Linked DNA regions of Homo sapiens: all the other regions are linked to region 3. The links are contacts of gene promoters, found by promoter capture Hi-C in blood cells and fetal thymus (Javierre and others, 2016). All regions are on one chromosome and are shown on one strand. Each heading gives the region's core, a stretch centred on a gene start or on the middle of the fragment in contact. The rest is flanking DNA. Distances are from core to core; before and after follow the strand shown. Region 1 has its middle 1.8 kb from the start of TSPAN6. Region 2 has its middle 5.2 kb from the start of TRMT2B. Region 3 holds the start of CSTF2 (cleavage stimulation factor subunit 2). Region 4 overlaps SRPX2 (sushi repeat containing protein X-linked 2).

Evidence for each region. Contacts are between HindIII fragments. The CHiCAGO score rates a contact against its expected background, and 5 or more counts as called.
Region 1: a contact is called between a fragment that was not itself captured here and the fragment with the promoter of CSTF2 in region 3, in 2 of 17 cell types (fetal thymus and naive CD4 T cells). The highest score is 6.0, in fetal thymus.
Region 2: a fragment that was not itself captured here is called in contact with the fragment with the promoter of CSTF2 in region 3 in 6 of 17 cell types (non-activated CD4 T cells, naive CD4 T cells, activated CD4 T cells and 3 more); the score reaches 8.3 in non-activated CD4 T cells.
Region 4: a fragment that was not itself captured here is called in contact with the fragment with the promoter of CSTF2 in region 3 in 2 of 17 cell types (monocytes and total B cells); the score reaches 5.3 in monocytes.

Annotation. Positions count from the first base shown.
Region 1 is chrX:100,637,194-100,640,000 of GRCh38, forward strand. No RefSeq gene overlaps it. Among named protein-coding and RNA genes, the nearest start is that of TSPAN6, 1.8 kb to the left of the region's middle. The HindIII fragment of the contact is 1,323 bases long and covers 692-2,014 here.
Region 2 is chrX:101,055,922-101,058,621 of GRCh38, forward strand. No RefSeq gene overlaps it. Among named protein-coding and RNA genes, the nearest start is that of TRMT2B, 5.2 kb to the left of the region's middle. The HindIII fragment of the contact is 4,943 bases long and covers 1-2,700 here.
Region 3 is chrX:100,819,009-100,821,708 of GRCh38, forward strand. CSTF2 (cleavage stimulation factor subunit 2) reads left to right here and starts at 1,383. Exons shown (of 14, transcript NM_001325.3): 1 at 1,383-1,466; 2 at 2,519-2,597. The coding sequence starts at 1,409. RefSeq lists enhancers at 1,055-1,114, 1,125-1,174, 1,455-1,614. The HindIII fragment of the contact is 13,366 bases long and covers 1-1,489 here.
Region 4 is chrX:100,673,594-100,676,457 of GRCh38, forward strand. It overlaps SRPX2 (sushi repeat containing protein X-linked 2), which reads left to right. Exons shown (of 11, transcript NM_014467.3): 11 at 1-2,195. SYTL4 (synaptotagmin like 4) reads right to left here. Exons shown (of 20, transcript NM_001370165.1): 20 at 898-2,583. The coding sequence ends at 2,435. Among named protein-coding and RNA genes, the nearest start is that of SRPX2, 31 kb to the left of the region's middle. The HindIII fragment of the contact is 886 bases long and covers 913-1,798 here.

The DNA.
Region 1 (2,807 bases), core at 103-2,602, 180 kb before region 3:
AGCGGATTGCAAAGCAATACATACAGTCACGTGTGCTTAGACAAAAACTGAAAGGAACAGTGAAATTTACCTCTGGTGGAATTAGGCTGATTTTTTTCTCACTTGTGTGCTTTTCAATTTGTGAACATTGTTTTATGGGTTAGGAAGGGGAGATGTGAATGGAGGAAAATAATCACCACTTGTTGAAAGAATTTCTAAGCTAGGTATTAAAGATAATAATGACTTTAGAATTTACCTGCAGGACTTTGCAAAACCCCAGTATTCCTCTCCTTTTTTATCCCCTAAGTAATTGGAAAGTTGAGGGAAAGTATTTTTACATAATAGTGAAATGTAAGTTCAGCTATTCGCTGTAAACTTTTAAAAAGAGAGAGTGCAATGGAAAAATCCCTGGTGAGTGTGACCTCCTCTTAAATGTTAAAACAGAAAGGCACTGTACATTCCAGCCACCTGGTTTTTCCCATCAAAACCCAGCTGATTACAGAGAGATTAAAACCTAATGTTATATATTGTGAATATATTGGTCTATGTTGTTACAACACAGGAGGTGCGTTAAGGTCTGATTTCTCAACTAAAGCGTCAGCTCTTTGAAGGCAGAGACTGAGTGTTAAGTGAGTTTGTGTTATCTCTAGAGGAACGGGGTTAGAAGGCTGTATCAGTTCCCTATGCAATCCAACCCTTCATCATTGACACAAGCTTAATATCACAAGTGGCTATTTACTCTATTGCCATTGCAAAAAGACCTGCATTTGTGGAGGAGAGATGAATACTCAAACTTTTCTGCTTGAAACGTTGCTTTAAACATACACCTCAGGACCAGAACACAGGAAAGTTCCATTGACTTGGTCACACAGAGCTTCCCTGTGCTTCGAATATTGACCTAGGACCAGTTCCTATAACATCTTGCCAGACGTCTGAGGTGCAAGGCAGCAACTGTTGGAAAATTAATTATTGCATTGCCAGGCTTTATACTAAAATTTTTACTAAAATTTGAAAGGCCTAATACACAAATACATGGAGAGAATGGATAAACGATACATCTACATACACCTTCAAACACTTTGAGGTAAAGTCGTTAGGAAATACCAAATATTCAACATGGTGGAGGGGGGTGTCTAAGTATATGCAAAGATTTCTCCCTAGGCTAAATGACCCCAACTGAAGGGTTCTTATACTAAAAACAAGGATCAAGGGAAGTCTTGATAACTTCTTGTCATCTTAAAGAGAAGTTTCTCTGAAACTTAGATATGTACTGAAAGGGATTTACAGTGTGAGCCCAAGAGCAAAGAAATATGTCTGTAGCTGAAGAAAAAACAAAATAGCAAAGCAAAAGCCACATCTTATTTCCAAGAATGTGTTGACTTTCCTCCTCTCCCTTCCTCTACCACTCACAACGCTGCTTTGTTTGAATAACACTCGGTGCCAAATTAAACCAAATGCTGACATGGAAATTCATATTCCTATGGCTACAACACCTTGCACCATTGCCTCCTACTCTGCTACACCCACTTCCATCTCCCCACCCCCACAATGCCACCAAACCGAGAAATTCAATTTAGTTCAAACCTAGGCCTGGGTTTGGGTACAAACCCAGACCAAAGGGGCATCTAATCCCGTTTAAGGCAATTTAAGAAGTATTTCCCTAGGCCACTAGATAAATGTATTCTTTAAAGTATTAATAATGACTGTGATAATAAGTATTGACTGTATACCAACCACTATTGCTAAGAGCTTGATACACATTACCTCGTATGCACACATCACAAGAACCCTATTATGAGGTTGACACACCTAGCACCTTCATTTTACAGATGAAGAAACAGGTTGAAAGAGACCAAGTAAGCTGCCTAGGACTAAACCTGGGCAACTTCTGTGTCTTTCATCAGAAATGGGGCCCACTTTGTGATGAAACATAGCTGCTGTTGTACGTACAGCTGCCTCTGCGCAGAGTAACCTGAGTAAAGACTGCTGTTGCACAGACATTTAACCTAAAACAAGGACTCCTCGGAGCCTCTGAAGCTTAAGAACCTCAATGATTGCCCCAATTCTGCCTTGCACTTGGGGTTTTTTGGTTGAGTTTGGCTTTTGCCTTCACTCCAATAGCCCAGCCACCTAGGAAGTAACCCTACCTGCCCCAGAGTGGTAAGGCAGAGAGTTCAGTACTTTTTCTTGTTCAACCTCTTAATTTCTCCCTCTTTCTGAGCACAGAAACACAATTTGATGCCAACAATGTAGGAAAAAAGGAAAATACTTTAAGTATTGTTACTGCTTGTTTTACATGGAACATTTAGTAGCCCCCCTTCCCAATTAATTTCCTGTAACCTTCAAGATTAGGTGTAAATGTTTTTCATTGCTAGACATCAGGCAAGGGAAATGACATAAACAAGGGCTCACTGTTAAGTCAGACCTCCCTTGTGCCACCTCCAGCCTCCCTCCATCCCTACCAAGCCCCTCATCCCAATACAATCTCAACTGATTTCCTACTGCTTTTCCAATGTGAATTTTCTGCTCTGTACCAGGTCAGTATGATCAACCCCCCAATTAAACAAGTCCTATTCCCTAGTCCCTGCCCACCCTCAACTTCACTCATACTTTCTGCTTCTACTGAATATCCAGTTCAATCCCAACTCAGTAAAAAGTCCCTCCTTCCTCACCTCTTTCTCTAACACCATAACTGTCTTAACTACACACTCACTCCCATTAACCCAGCCCTTTAGTCAATTACTGCAATATCTGCTTTGCATTTCTACTTACCTATTCTACATCCTACCGTCTAGATGTTCAGAAACTACTGAAGAGCTAGTGTGGCA
Region 2 (2,700 bases), core at 47-2,546, 240 kb after region 3:
AACCACCTAAGGCCGGGTAAGGAGGCTCATGCCTGTAATCCCAGCACTTTGGGAGGCTGAGGCGGGCAGTATCACCTGAGGTCAGGAGTTCAAGACCAGCCTGGCCAACATGGTGAAACCCCGTCTCTACTAAAAATACAAAAAGTAGCTGGGCGTGGTGGTGCATGCCTGTAATCCCCGCTATTCAGGAGCTGAAACAGGAGAATTGCTTTTTTTTCTTCTTTTTTTCTTTTCTTTTCCTTTTTTTTTTTTTTTTTTTTTTTTTTTGAGATGGAGTTTCACTCTTGTTGCCCAGGCTGGAGTGCAATGGTGTGAATTCAGCTCACTGCAACCTCCGCCTCCTGGGTTCAAGCAATTCTCCTGCTTCATCCTCCCAAGTAGCTGGGATTACAGGGACCTGCCACCACACCTGGCTAATTTTTTGTATTTTTAGTAGAGACAGGGTTTTGCCATGCTGGCCAGGCTGGTCTTGAACTTCTGACCTCAGGCGATCCACTCACCTCGGCCTCCCAAAGTGCTAGGATCACAGGCATGATCCACCGCACCTGGCCAAGAATTGCTTGAACGCAGGAGGCAGAGGTTGCAGTAGGCTGAGATCGCGTCATTGCACTCCTGCCTGGGCAACAATAACGAAAGTCCCTCTCAAAACAAAAACAAAAACAAACAAACAAACAAAAAAACACCTAAATCCAAAGGGCATCAGCCTAATGGCTAAGGTCAACATGACCATAAACCGTAAATGACATCTCCAACCAGAAACATTCCAACCATAAGATAAACCCCTCCCCAACCAGAGACATGCCAGCCCCAAGTAACCTCCCCTCCAACCAGAGACATTCCAACCCTGCAATAAACTTCTCCCCACCACAGTAACATTCCAAGCCTGTAATAAGCTCCCTCACCCTAAAACCAATAAATACTCTTAGTCTGTAAGAGAGAGCACTCCTGACCAAAATCGGCCAGAAGACCCTCTCCGGTTGATTATCCAAAATAAACCTGTCTTTGTCTGTTGAGCCACTTTTCATGTTTCTTTCCTCTTTCTTTAACTCTTACAAAAATTAGTTGGCATTTAGGGCTGGTTTGGTTCCATTAAACAAGTTCTTTGGTGCACCTAGGACTGTGCTATATGCTATGAGGGATAGATTCACAGACCACACCCTCAAAGATTGTATGACCTGATAGGAAGATAATACTCAGTGTGAGAATACACAACTATTGGGGCTTTGGTAAGTCTCAGAAAACAGCCACCATCTTGGTACCAAAGGAAGGAAAAGAATGTGATAATTGAGTTGAATGCATAGGATATGAATAATCTGAGAGGAACTGGGACTGCAGCATGAAAAGAGGAAATGAGTAATAATTGTACAAGGCCCATGAGGAGGCAGACCTGGCTAGATAAGAGTTTGGTGCTTAAGCCATTGGCCATTGGCTGATCAGATAGACAGGTCAGGGAAAATAACAAAGGGTCTGGAGGGCTGGGATGAGGAGTTTGAGCTAGTTCCTGTAACAATAGGAAGCTAATGAAGAGTTTTTGGGTTTTTTTTTTTTCATAAGATGTTTCTGCAAGATAACTCTAGGAGCTGTATATAGATGGATTTTAGGATGTAGTGATGCAATCACCTGACCGGTTCTTCCTGCTCACTGCACAGACAAAATCAATTCACTGAGACCACAGCATTGCAGTAAAGAAAGAGTTTAGGCCAGGCACGGCAGCTCATGCCTGTAATCCCAGCACTTTGGGAGGCTGAGGTGGGCGGATCACCTGAGGTCAGGAGTTCAAGACCAGACTGGCTAACATGGGGAAACCCCATCTCTACTAAAAATACAAAAATTAGCTGGGTATAGTGGTGGGTGCCTGTAATCCCAGCTGCTTGGGAGGCTGAGGCAAGAGAATCACTTGAATCCAGGAGGCGGAGGTTGCAGTGAGCCAAGATCACGCCACTGCACTCCAGCCTGGGTGACAGAGAAAAACTCCATCTCAAAAAAAAAAAAAAAAAGAGTTTAATTGATGAGAGCTCGGCCACAACATGTAGGAGATGGAGTTATTACTCACATCAATCTCCCTGAAAATTTGGAGGCTAGAATTTTTCAAAGATAGTTTGGTAGGCAGTTATAGTTATATGCATACACAGCTCTACACCTTTCATCACCTCCTCTTCCCCTTTGGTTGGGGATGCAATCATAGGGGTATGGAAAATGGCCCTCTTGGACTGAGTCTGCTCCTGGGTCGGGACCACAGTAGGTGTGGGGTGGGACAATTCAGTAAGTGTGGGGTGGGACTCAGAATCCATATGTGTTACAATCATCCAAGCTGATTATGTTGCAGATGTCCCTGACCATATTTTGAGAAAATTTTGCAGTATGCAGTATAGCTTGCCTTAGCACAGAAACTTATGACCTCCCATCTGAATGTATGCAACAGTCTCCCTCAGCTTCCAGGTCACTGAAACTGCCTTTGCAAAATGATGACATTAAGAGAAATCTGACATGGTTGACTCCATCTTGCCTTCAACTTTCAAGCTGTCCTTGGCCATTCATGGGCATGGGCCACGCTAACTTTGAGAGAAAATTAGTTTATAGTTTAAATGATAACAGCCTTTCCCAAAAACTAAACCACCCTTGTAAAACTAATGAAAGGCCACCAACCAGGTTAGGAGGATGAGAGGGGCCTGCATTATACTAAGATGTAGGCATAGTTAA
Region 3 (2,700 bases), core at 133-2,632:
CTACAGAGCTGTAAATCTCCTTTTGGACCATTCCATTACACAAGGTGTCCTCTTGGTCACACAGTGATTGCAAATGGGACTCTAGAGTCATGGAAATGGGTATACTCTTCTCAAACTTTCCATCTTTACCAGAATTACTTCTTAAAGTGATATGCTTCATGGTGTAAACTAGCACTTATTAATTTTTTCTAAATATTTATCATATTTCATATACTTTTATTTTGGAGATGGAGTTTCGCTCTTGTTGCCCAGGCTGGAGCGCAATGGCAGATCTCGGATCACCGCAACATCCATCTCCCGGGTTCAAGCGATTCTCTGGCCTCAGCCTCCTGAGCAGCTGGGATTACAGGCATGCGCCACCACGCCCGGCTAATTTTGTATTTTTAGTAGAAAAGGGGTTCTCCATGTTGGCCAGGCTGGTCTCCAACTCCCGACCTCAGGTGATGCGCCCGCCTCGGCCTCCCAAAGTGTTGGCATTACAGGCATGAGCCACCGCGCCCGGCCCATATACTTTTAATACATGTGGAATTAATAAAAACGTCCATGCCTCCAATTCCGTGGCTATTTTACCGTCTTCCTTTTTCGGACAAGTCCCTCAAAGGTAGCGCTCTTGGCTCCTTCCTTTGCTTATCCCCTAACCCTGTCCTCCTGAGGTGCCCCCTGGATTTCCTCCAACCCCGGCAGGGTCTGCCTTTCCGGGATGATACAACGACCTGCCCTGCATGCCATATCCCAGGCGCGTGGGCACCAAAGTGTGGAAAAACCGATGAATGACGTTTTCTGTTTCCGATACTCTGCCTGCCAGAATCCCCTGCCGCACCGCCCCACCACGAAGCACATGGAACCCACGGACTACACGAGGACAGAGGTCTGTTCTCCCTTTACCTCTCCCATTTCTTTAACTATGCTTCTCTCGGCTGGCATGCCCTTTCCTCATCTCACTCCACACACGAACAGGTTTAGCAAATAATATGCACGCTGCTGGGACGGGCCCAAGCATTTCCCTCCCTTGATAGGGCGGAACTAAAATGCAAGCCCCACAGTTGTCAGCAAAGGACTTCCCTGTTACCATGGTAAAGCCGCTGCGCCTTTATTGTGGTTGAGGAGTACTTGCATCAACCTAAGAGAAAATTAATAAGAAGGAAGTCTGCAGGCTGAAACCCTTCAAATTAGCCTGGACTCGCCTGCATCTGGCTCGGAACAGAGTTAATCTCAGGAGTGAGAATATAGCCCTCCGGTGGACGCAACTCGCGCCTGCGGCTAACAGAATGTCTCCAGGGGAGGGGCTCTGCGTCCGTTCCGCCCAGGCCCTTCCGGCTCACGCGCCGTACGGAAGCGTGCTCAGCGCTGGGCTTGTGCTCCGTACGGAAGTGTGCTTTGGCGCACCGGAAGCCGACTCAACAGAGCTATGGCGGGTTTGACTGTGAGAGACCCAGCGGTGGATCGTTCTCTACGTTCTGTGTTCGGTGAGAGGAATTCGTTGTAGTCAAGCTTCGGGGAGGGACTCCCCTCTGCACCTTCTATCTCATGAATCGCTACCGGAGCCGCTGACGGTTCGGACGTGCAGTTCTCCCTGCTTATCCTGTAGGGCGTCCAACCTGGTGGACTCATGAGCAAAGAGATATTCCCATTCTGCCGAGGTCTCGTAGGCTTTCCGCAATATCAGTGGGGAAGTTAGACTAGCGTTCAGCTTCTGTGCGTTTCTCCTTTCATGAGCTTCAATTATTCTCTAGAGGAGAAGGCTCACGGTAACAGCTCCTCACTGTCCCGTACTACTTCTCATCCTCTGCCCCAGAATACAGACTATATGCTGAGGGTATAGATCCTAGTGTCCACTTACTGTCCTCTCCTAAGGACTTTCATCCTTTGCTTTTTATCTGTAACATTTTAGTGCATCAATAGTGGTAGCGGCCACCTGGTGTCCTGAGATGGCTTGTAAGTGAATGAATGAATGAACTATTAAGATCTCCTCAGAGGAATTTTAAAAAGGATCGAAACGATTCTGAATTATCTTTTTGGCTGAAATAAGTTGTTTTTAAAAATACGTGTGATTATTTTAGAGTACCATTTGAAAGGGACATGACAAAGTAGTTCAGAATACTTTTTAAACATCTTTCACTACATTCATCGTCATTCTCCCTTAAATGTTGTATGTGTGGAAATACATAGGAACCTGTTTTAAAAATTATATTAAATAACATTGATATTTTTTGTAGTCACTGATGAGACTTGCAGATCTTTAGGTAAATACCAGTGCCAAAGTATTTATTTGCACCAAAGTTAAGGAAAATCTAACACGTGTCAGATCAGTCTGAGAACTAACATTTGAGAGTACCTACACATTTTGTATTTAGTTTCAGTGGTATATTTCCTTTGTTAAGAGGTCTGAAGAAATACAATGGAATTGGGATTGGAGAACACTATTTTGAGTCTTATATTTGATGATATAAGTTTACTTTCTCACTAAAGATCTATGTTATAAACTCAGAATTTTAATGTTACCTATTTTCTTCCTTAGTGGGGAACATTCCTTATGAAGCTACTGAAGAGCAGTTGAAGGACATCTTTTCTGAGGTTGGACCTGTTGTTAGTTTCAGGTGAGATCCCCTTTTCCTTCATGGTGGGAGCTTCTTAAAAATCACCACAGATTTGGCTCTTAGTAATAATGGCAGGTTTTCTTTACTGGTGACTTTTCACATA
Region 4 (2,864 bases), core at 106-2,605, 150 kb before region 3:
ACACACACACTCACTCACAAGCAGTACAGTCACTAAGTTGGCTAGGTAATATCCAAAGCATTCTGATTGTCCTACTTTTTGTAAATTGAACTTATTTAAGATATTTTAGAAGAGATGAGTCACGTCTTCCTTTGACCCTTCACCCATAACACACATACCATTCTCACAGGAGGCCACATGGTGCAGTAGAGTCAGACTTTGATTCAAAGCCCAACTCTGTCACGTGACAGTAGGCTTGAGTTTCCTCATCTGTAAAAAGGGAAGATTTCCTACTTCATAAAGTGGTTGGAGAAATTAAAGAAATAGTATATGAAGCCTTGCACATAAAAAGCATTTGATATATATTAATGCCCTTTTGCACAAGAGGTCAAGAATTGCTTGGGTTCTACCTAGAAATCAAGAGCCTTATTTCTGAGCTGGGTTACTTGGCACCTGTGTTATTTCTCTCTCAAAACTACATAATGGTAGGAGGAGTAAAAGAAAAAGTCCCCGCCTCCCAGAGAAATTGAAGGATCCAGAAAGAAGTGCTTATAGCAGGGAATGTCTCCCCTCACCTCCTGTATGAACATCTCTCTCCTTCCTCCAGTATAGGAGGGTCTGCAAAGCTAAAGGAAGAGTTCCTTTGTTACAAGATAGAAAAGTGGTGCCACTTTAAAGATGATTTCTCAGTGTTCTCCTTAGATACCAAATACAAAGGACGAGGGATCAAGCTCAGCGAAAGTATCAGGCATTTAAGGTATCAGGCAGCAATGCGGGGAAAGGTGAATTTTCTTCAATCAGCATAGGATGGTTAGGGAAGAGCATTTATCACTTTGGTTCTTATCCTTCAAGCCAGGGGAAAAGCAACAGTGAGGACATCAGAGACAAAAGCATTTATAGAACTAACAAACACAAACGTTTGACAAGTGAGAAAGCTTTATTAAAGCACACATACATGTCAGGGGGGTGGGAAACAAAAGAGCAAGTTACAGCCCGGGATCCCAAGTTATGCCTTCCATTACAATTGCAATCCACACCAAATCAATCTTTGAAAACATTCCTCCATTCGGTTCATACATACAGTAGAAACCACTGTGGCTGCCCTTAATCCAGTGTGCTTATAGGAAATCAGTTAGCAGCTGACTCTGTTGAAAGGGATTTCCTCTCTGCTATACACTCCTTCCACACACAACTTTGGGTAGAAACGCTTATGAGAATAGAAAGGTCAGTTTGATCAATGAGTACCAGAAGATGAAACTTAGCTCACTAGACCCTTCTTTGAAAAGCCTCAACACACTACACCCATGTAATATGTAGGTCAAATTTAGGAAACAATAGCAAAAACAGGAACTGAAAGCTCATCAAGCAGGAAGTCAGAATAACAGGGAGACTCTGTCTACATTCCCTTAGAGCCCTTAACAGTCCCCAGCCTGGAGAAACACTGGGCCAATTGAGATAACACTTGGCTCTTCTGGTTGACACAGTGGGATGTAGACCATGCTCTGTTTGATAACACACCCCAGACGCAAACACTAAGACAGATGTGGTACATGAGGATGAATATATCTCATCTTTCATTCGAGAAATGAGGAGCTCTCTCTCCAATGACTGCAGTATCAGTTTAAAATGCAGAAAATTCAGCATGGGCTGTGAGACACTTTACCCTCAGTCACTCTGGTCCTCTGAGATCAGCTAGAAGCTCTCACTGGGCATCCTCGTGATTTAGTCAAAATACATTATCTAATTAAAGTGCTTTTCAAAAGCAGCTCCATTATAAGAGTCCCCCAAAGGTCTAGTAAAGATATCTAGAACTGGAAAAAGCTTGGGAATTCTGTTAGCATTTCAAAGAAAAGCATTAGACCAAAGCAAGGTGGAAACTGCTTAAAAACTAGAAAAGTTAAATTTAAAAGCCAAGTTCCAGAAGTTTATCCAGGTAGAAAATAAGTTAAAAGCATAAATTGGAGAGGAGAAAGAGGAAGGAACTACTCACCTCTCCCCAACATTCCTGTCTTTACTAACCAACCCTGCTTCCCAGAGCCTTAAAACCCAGACTGGTCCTAATGCGAAAGGTAGCCAGGGCTTCCTAGGGAAGTAGGAACAATGATAGCAAGACAGAAGATAAAAAGTTGTTTTAAAAGCTGTTTTTAAGTTAAGTGAACCTTATAAAGACATAAGAAAAAATGGACTCTGAAAATAAACTAGATTATACACAGAAACATTTTAAAGAAATGCTTATTCTTGAGACTGCTTTAAAAAGAAGAACAAGTCTGCATCACTCTAGCCAGCATAATGAGATTTGCAGAAAATACATGTTTGTACACATACACACACACACACACACACACACATACACACATACACACATACACATTAAATTATAAATCTTTGCTCTTGATTTCTTCACTTCCTCTGACCTGCCCTCGCCAGGGCTGGACCTGCAGAAGAGGACAGGGACTCATAAACCCAGCTTCTGCTTGGCCATTGAGGAACGGAGCTGCAGAGTCCCTTCTGCCCAAGACCCTGGGTACTGTCGCATCTTCTGCCACAGGCTCACTTCTTCCCCAGTCGAGTCCATCCAGTCCACCACTTCCCCATTACTGATCCCTGAGGAGAAACACCAGAAGAGGCTAAAGAGGGGCCCCACTCTCAGCCCACCAGGGAAGATGGGTTGTACAGCAAGATTAGCCACCCCATAACAGTTTCCTACGAAGATGGGCTAATGGCCACAGCAGTCTGGGAAGTGCTCCCTCACCTGTATTCCTGAGACTCTGTCAAGAGACTCTGGGTTGATGAAATCAGACTCCAAATGGCACACAGTCACTAGAGACTTCTTATTCTGAGGCTGTTACAGAGTTCTAGTGCCTGACAACTCATGCCAGAGCTAT